Regions from separate parts of the Homo sapiens genome. Here region 1 is linked to region 2. The links are contacts of gene promoters, found by promoter capture Hi-C in human tissues and cell types (Jung and others, 2019). All regions are on one chromosome and are shown on one strand. The core of a region is centred on a gene start or on the middle of the fragment in contact, and the rest is flanking DNA. Distances in the headings are between cores, read along the strand shown. Region 1 holds the start of FOXK2-AS1 (FOXK2 antisense RNA 1). Region 2 holds the start of RAB40B (RAB40B, member RAS oncogene family).

What was found. Contacts are between HindIII fragments. The study calls those that stand out against the background at their distance.
Region 1: a fragment that was not itself captured here is called in contact with the fragment with the promoter of RAB40B in region 2 in 4 of the 25 tissues and cell types used here (dorsolateral prefrontal cortex, lymphoblastoid cells, pancreas and 1 more).

Annotation. Positions count from the first base shown.
Region 1 is chr17:82,586,042-82,588,541 of GRCh38, reverse strand. It overlaps FOXK2 (forkhead box K2), which reads right to left. Exons shown (of 9, transcript NM_004514.4): 7 at 2,342-2,500; 8 at 1,270-1,479. It overlaps FOXK2-AS1 (FOXK2 antisense RNA 1), which reads left to right and starts at 120. Exons shown (of 3, transcript XR_001753132.3): 1 at 120-286; 2 at 1,068-1,312. RefSeq lists a silencer at 823-1,023. The HindIII fragment of the contact is 6,150 bases long and covers 1-2,500 here.
Region 2 is chr17:82,697,182-82,701,166 of GRCh38, reverse strand. RAB40B (RAB40B, member RAS oncogene family) reads left to right here and starts at 2,469. Exons shown (of 6, transcript NM_006822.3): 1 at 2,469-2,712. The coding sequence starts at 2,571. RefSeq lists silencers at 1,901-2,290, 2,311-2,740. The HindIII fragment of the contact is 28,650 bases long and covers 1-3,985 here.

The sequences.
Region 1 (2,500 bases), core at 1-2,500, 110 kb after region 2:
TTGTCTTCAGACTGGGAGTGACTAAGACCAGAAAGCCAACCGCCTGCCCTCCAACCGCCTGCCCTCCAACCGCCAGCCCTCCAACCGCCAGCCCTCCAACCGCCTGCCCTCCAATAGCCAGCCCTCCAACCGCCTGCCCTCCAATCGCCAGCCCTCCCGGCTTCCATCTCCTCCCAGCTACCTGCAGTGCCACCAGGTTTATCACCTTAGAGCATCCACAGCCACAGTTACCCAGAGAGAAGAGAAGGAGGAGACACAGGGCTTGGGGACGAAGGCATTCAAACAGGTAACTGATGACTGCAAACTCTGCGATCTATCTACAGGCAGCAAGTGTTGCTATTACTTAAAAACAAAAAAAACCCCAGGTAGTCAGTCTTCCCTAGAAAAGGTTCCAGACCTTGTTCTTCCATAAATTTGGGGAGAGGCAGGGTGGTGCTGAGTCAGAGTAGGAGGTACCTGCAGGTTTCAAGGTCTCTGTTCGTAGCGTTCGGTAAGGATTCAAACGTCGTGATAAAGCCTTCTGACCTGTACCCTCTTTCAAAGAAAGCGTGTCGTGGGCACAGAGACAGTTTTAGTCGGTAGCTTCGGATTTGCCTGCTTGAGATCCCGCAAGCGCCAGGATCAGCCACACAGCCGGCAACAGCCCACATGTACCCAACCCAGAGCAGCGGGAGCCCACACCTGAGCCAGGCCCCAATGCCAGAGTTGACTCGGCAGCCAGCAGGGACTCCCACCCTTTCCACACTCCACAGGGCAGGGCGAAGGTAGATAACCCGGTGTCGGCGCGGAGGTTCTGGTGTCTCCACTTGTCAATGTCAGAACATCCGTGCGGTTTTCTGTGCACCGGCCTCGGACGGACTCTGAGAGCAAAGCGCACAGAAAAGCAGCCTCTCTCCCACCCTCAGCAGCATAGCACCGCCACAGGCCACAGGGCGCGCGAGGCCAAGGGAAAAGACACGCGGCGGCTCCCGCCGTTTCAGGCCGCTTCCAGGCCACACCCAGGAAATCTACAAGAGGCGAGAGTATTTTTCCCTCTCAATGTATTAGAAACTCTCATCTCTTTTCAGGCAGGTCCTCCCACGGGAATCCCATGACGGCCGACTCCACGACCACTTCCCCAGCATGACTAGATTTCCTGCAGCTTCGAAATGCAAACATTGCCTCAGACAAAAGCTAAAATTGTTACAGTCAGAACCGAAACCACGAGTGAGAAGGGGCTCTGCTCCCAGTACCCACAGCCACGGGGAGCCACCGACCAGCATGTCTTACCATTGTTCACCTGGCCGTGGACCGCAGTGGGGACTGATGCCACGTGAGTGCCGTTTTGTGTTACAGTTTTTATTGGTAGCTGGTGTTGACCTAGAGGTGCCTGTTGTACTATGGTCACCGTCTGGACCGGGGTGGTCTGTGCCGTCTGAATGATCCGGCTGGCAGTGCCGAGCGTGGCGTGGCCAATGGCGGGAATAGGCTCTACTTTCACTGAAATTAAAGGAAAAGAAACGACATTAATATTACTGGAAAGCAAATAAAAATCTTGCCAGTTTAAAACATAATAACCAGATAGCTATCACACCTGCTAGAAAATGTCTCTAAAACAAACAGCAAATTAGAAAAAGATGAGCAAATCTTTTTTTTGTTTTTTGAGATGGAGTTTCGCTCGTTACCCAAGCTGGAGTCCAATGGCGCAATCTCAGCTCACTGCAACCTCCACCTTCCGGGTTCAAGTGATTCTCCCGCCTCAGCCTCCCGAGTAGCTGGGATTACAGGCACCCGCCACCATGCCCAGCTGATTTTGTATTTTTAGTAGAGACAGGGTTTCTCCGTGTTGGTCAGGCTGGTCTCCAACTCCTAACCTCAGGTGATCCGACCGTCTCAGCCCCCCATAGTGCTGGGATTACAGGTGTGAGCCACTGTACCTGGCCAAGGATGAGCAAATCTTATGGACTTCCCAGAGTGTGAGGCTGATGGGGCAGCCTCTCCTCCTTTCCCCTCCGCCTACCTTTGACCTCCCTGTGGTCTCCCCTCTCCTCCTTTCCCCCCCGGCCCACCTTTGACCTCCCTGTGGTCTCCCCTCTCCTCCTTTCCCCCCCCGGCCCACCTTTGACCTCCCTGTGGTCTCCCCTCTCCTCCTTTCCCCCCCGCCCACCTTTCACCTCCCTGTGGTCTCCCCTCTCCTCCTTTCCCCTCCGCCTACCTTTGACCTCCCTGTGGTCTCCCCTCTCCTCCTTTCCCCCCCGGCCCACCTTTGACCTCCCTGTGGTCTCCCCTCTCCTCCTTTCCCCCCCCGGCCCACCTTTCACCTCCCTGTGGTCTCCCCTCTCCTCCTTTCCCCTCCGCCTACCTTTGACTTCCCTGTGGTCTCCATTCTCCTGGGCCTCTGCCTTAGGAGGGGCCAGCACGGCTGCCGGGGTGACCACAGCTTGTCCAGAGACAGTGTACGTGTTCGCTGGGGCCAGTCCGGCCACACTGGTGACCGACACCGCTGGGATCTGGTGGACGA
Region 2 (3,985 bases), core at 1,220-3,719:
CTGGAAGCCTGGCTCTGAGTTGGGCAGAAGGTAGGCTAGTGCTGTCCAGACACCTCCACCCTCTGCCTGGACTTTACACATGTACTGAAACTGGGGAGGAGGAAGAGGTATCCCACCACAGGACTGTCCCTCAGGAAACTGGGGGCCCTGGTGGGAGGAAACCTGCTTTGGCTGTAGAAATAAACACCTCTGTTTGGTGAAAGCAATGTTTGGGGCAAGAAGATGGACACCATATCTGAACACAGCCCTCTTCTGACGTGGTTATTTTACCTGGCCCTCCAGGTGGGAGTGGCCATGTTCCAGCTCAGCCAAGGCCAGCTTGGAGGTGACAACTAGGAGGTGGTGAGGACCTTCTGTGGGGCAGGAGAAGAGCAGACAAGGGCTCCCCCATCACCTGTCCTCTGTAGGAAGTGGTCTGGCCACCCCTCTCCATGCCCCACCGTGAACACTGCTGGACTGCTGGGTGTGACCCCGAGGGTGGGCTGGGGGCCTCCTGACCCCTATTGTACAGTGAGTCTGGATGTGTAGGTGGGGAGCGAGCAAAAGAAGGTACCCTTTCCTCACTAGGTAATAGCCATGTGACCCACAGCTGATTGGAACATGGAGACTGAGGGTTAGGGATGGGAAGGAAACTCCCCTGAATTCTTTTTGGCAGAGTGGTGGGGCTGGGGACTAAATGCCATCTTTCTCATAGTTTTCTAGCGTCCACCTTCCATCCTCTTTTCTTCCTCTGACCTTCCTTCTAAAAAAAAACAGTGCTGCAATCCCAGCATTTTGGGAGGCCGAGGTCGATCACTTGAGGTCAGGAGTCAAAGACCAGCCTGGCCAACATGGCAAAATCCCATCTCTACTAAAAATGCAAAAATTAGCTGGGTGTGGTGGCACATGCCTGTAATCCTAGCTACTTGGGAGGCTTGAATCCAGGAGGTGGAAGTTGCAGTGAGCCAAGATTACATCACTGCACTCCAGCCTGGGCAACAGAGCAAGACTCTGTCTCAAAAAAAAAAAAATGTGGCTGCATTAGTAACTAAAGCAACTAATCAACCAATGAATAACAGGTGTTGCAAACTAAATTGGCATTCCAAAGTAAACATTTTCTAGGTCCAAATGAATGCAAATGACAAATATAATAATCTTGACTTCAGTCTCTTTTGTAATTCTTCTTCCGCTCCCTCTTCTGTTCCTCCCCCACAAAAAACTTCTAATGGGGTCTAGAGCAGTTCCCTACACAACGCAGGGTGGAGGGGATGAAGTAGTGGGGGCATTATCCTTCTTCTTGGACGGAGCTCGCCCTTTGCCTGCTGCCTGAATTCTGCACCAAATAAACCAATGTGCACCTGGTGAGACCCTCAGAGCGAAGGGCAGACCTCGGCCTGGCAACCCTTGCTCTCTAGAGCAGAGGAGAAGCCAAAAGGCTGGAGGGTCCCACCCAATGCTCTCCTCCAGCACGCACGCAAACACATGCATGGATGCACAAACAAGCGCACGCACACATAGGAGCGCATGCATAGAAGCAGCACACGCAGACACACACATGCAAAGATGCCTGCAAAGGCACACATGCACACGCACATACATGTGCAGACACCTGCAGAGGCACACATGCACACGCAGACACACAGATGTGCAGACATCTGCAGAGGGACACATGCACACGCACATACATGTGCAGACACCTGCAGAGGGACACATGCACACGCAGACACATAGATGTGCAGACACCTGCAGAGGGACACATGCACACGCAGACACATACATGTGCAGATATCTGCAGAGGCACACATGCACACGCAGACATGCACACACACGAACACATGCACACGTACACAGGCGCATGTGCACACACAGGCATTCAGGCACGCCGCGTAAATGGGGCAACGACGAGGCCCTGGATGAACCGTGGGGAGAGACCGCGAGCCTGGATTCTACGGCGACAGGGACTCCTCCGGCGAGGCGGCCTGCGGGGGCCTTCCGGCCGCGTCCGCCAACTGGACCGACCCCGAGCCCCACCCGGCCAGGCACCCGAGGTCTCCCTGGTGGGCAGGTGGGGAGGCCCCACGCTGGGACCCTGCACCGCCCCTCGCCCCTCCCGACTCGGGGCGTGCAGACCCGACGACCGTGGGAGCGAGTTCGTGGCGCTCACGGGCGCACGCGAGAGTGTAAACACCCGGCCCCACCCCCTGATCGCCCCCACCCCGCCCCGCCATTGGCTGCGGGAGCAGAGTCCCCGCCTCCTGCTTGTTCTGGCTCCGCCCCTGCCCCGTCTCCGGGCCTCCATTGGCTGTGGTGACAGCGACCTTTCAGGAGGGGCGGGTGGGCGACAGCCCGGAGGCGGTGACGAGAGTAAGATGGACGGACAACCAAGCCAGTGAAAGCGCGCAGCTGCCCTAGCAACTGCGGTCCACCAATGGCGGGGCCGGGCGGGGATGCGCGCTGTCAGCGCTGGGCGGCGGGGCGGGGCCGGAGGCGAGCAAGGACTCGGGGCCCGCGCGGCGCCTCTCGGGGCCGGGCCGCCGCCTCTGCGCTCAGCCCCGCAGGCCGGGCATGGGTGGGGGCGCCGGGCCGTCACGATGAGCGCCCTGGGCAGCCCGGTCCGGGCCTACGACTTTCTGCTCAAGTTCCTGCTGGTGGGCGACAGCGACGTGGGCAAGGGCGAGATCCTGGCGAGCCTGCAGGATGGCGCGGCCGAGTCCCCGTACGGCCACCCGGCGGGTGAGCGCGGGCGGAGGGCGTGCCGGGGTGCGGGCGCGGGGCCGGGGAGGGGCGCGGGGCTGGGGAGGGGGTGCGGGTGGGGGTCCGGGTCCGGGGACGCGAGACCGGGCAGGGGTCGGGAAGAGGCCGGGGCGCGTGGCCGGGGAGGGTAGGAGTCCCGGTCCGGGGGCGCGGGGCTGAGGAGGAGCGCGGTTCGCGGGCGGGCCTTTCTCCGCCCGGCCCTGGCCCTCGTGCTGCGGCGTCCCTGTTGCACCCCCAGTTCCACTCGAGGCCCCGCGGCGCAGTCTCCATCCTTCTCCGCAGTCTGCGCGCAGCGGGAGCCCGCGGCTGGGCCGGGCGCTGGGCTCCTCCCGACCTGGGGCCGCTGCTGTGGGGACCCGGGGCGGGGGCTCGAGTCCGCAAGTGCGCGTTCGGCCGCGGGGCAGGAGGGGCGGGAGGGGACGCGAGCTCCGGGGCTCCTGGGGCGGAGCGCGGCGAGCAGGCGCCCAGGTGCTGGGTCTGCGCGTGGGTCGGAGGGGAGGGGAGACCAGGGTCCGGTCCCGAGGCCAGGGGTCCCGCGTGTCCGGGGGAGAGGAAGGAGCACAGGTGACTCGCGTGCGGAAGAGGGGACCCCCCACGACAGCGGCCGGAGAGCGGGTTCCAGGGCGAGGGGAGGCCGGAGCGCCCAGAGCTCCCAGGCAGGCAGCCCGGGGATCCCCCAAGTTTGAGGCTTGAAAGCCGGCGCCCGGCGAGGGGGTGGACGGCTCCGGGGAAAGAAAGGCGGGGGCAGGAACCCAGGAGAAGGGGGAACGCGCAGAGGCGAACACCTCGGCTGGGAGTGAGGAGCAGGCGGGGCCTTCACCCACGCGCATCCCTGGAACAGCTTGGACGAGGCCGACCCTGAGGCTGTGGAAGGAGCCCAGCCTGTGCCCACCTTCCTGCCGCGCCTCGGGGCTGAACCCACGCTTCCAACAGAGACCCGCTCTGAGTCCTGGGCGGAGGAGGGCAGCCGGGCGTGGAGATGGAGTCTTGGTGGGAAGGACCTGTCAGCTCTGGGGCCTGGGAAGGGTCTGGGAAGCCCCAGGTCCAGGGTCCTGCCAGAGACGAACTTAGCGGGAGAGGGTGGGAGGAAGCGGGATCTGAGGCTGCTCGGTAGAGGGTGCAGGCTGTCCCCTAAGGGCAGCTCCAGGCAGGCGGCGTGAGCACCAAGGGAGTGTGGCACGGCTGGAGGGGGTGGCCTGAGACTGTGGAGCGTGGGGTGGGACTCAGGTGCCCGGCCACACCTCAGCTTAGG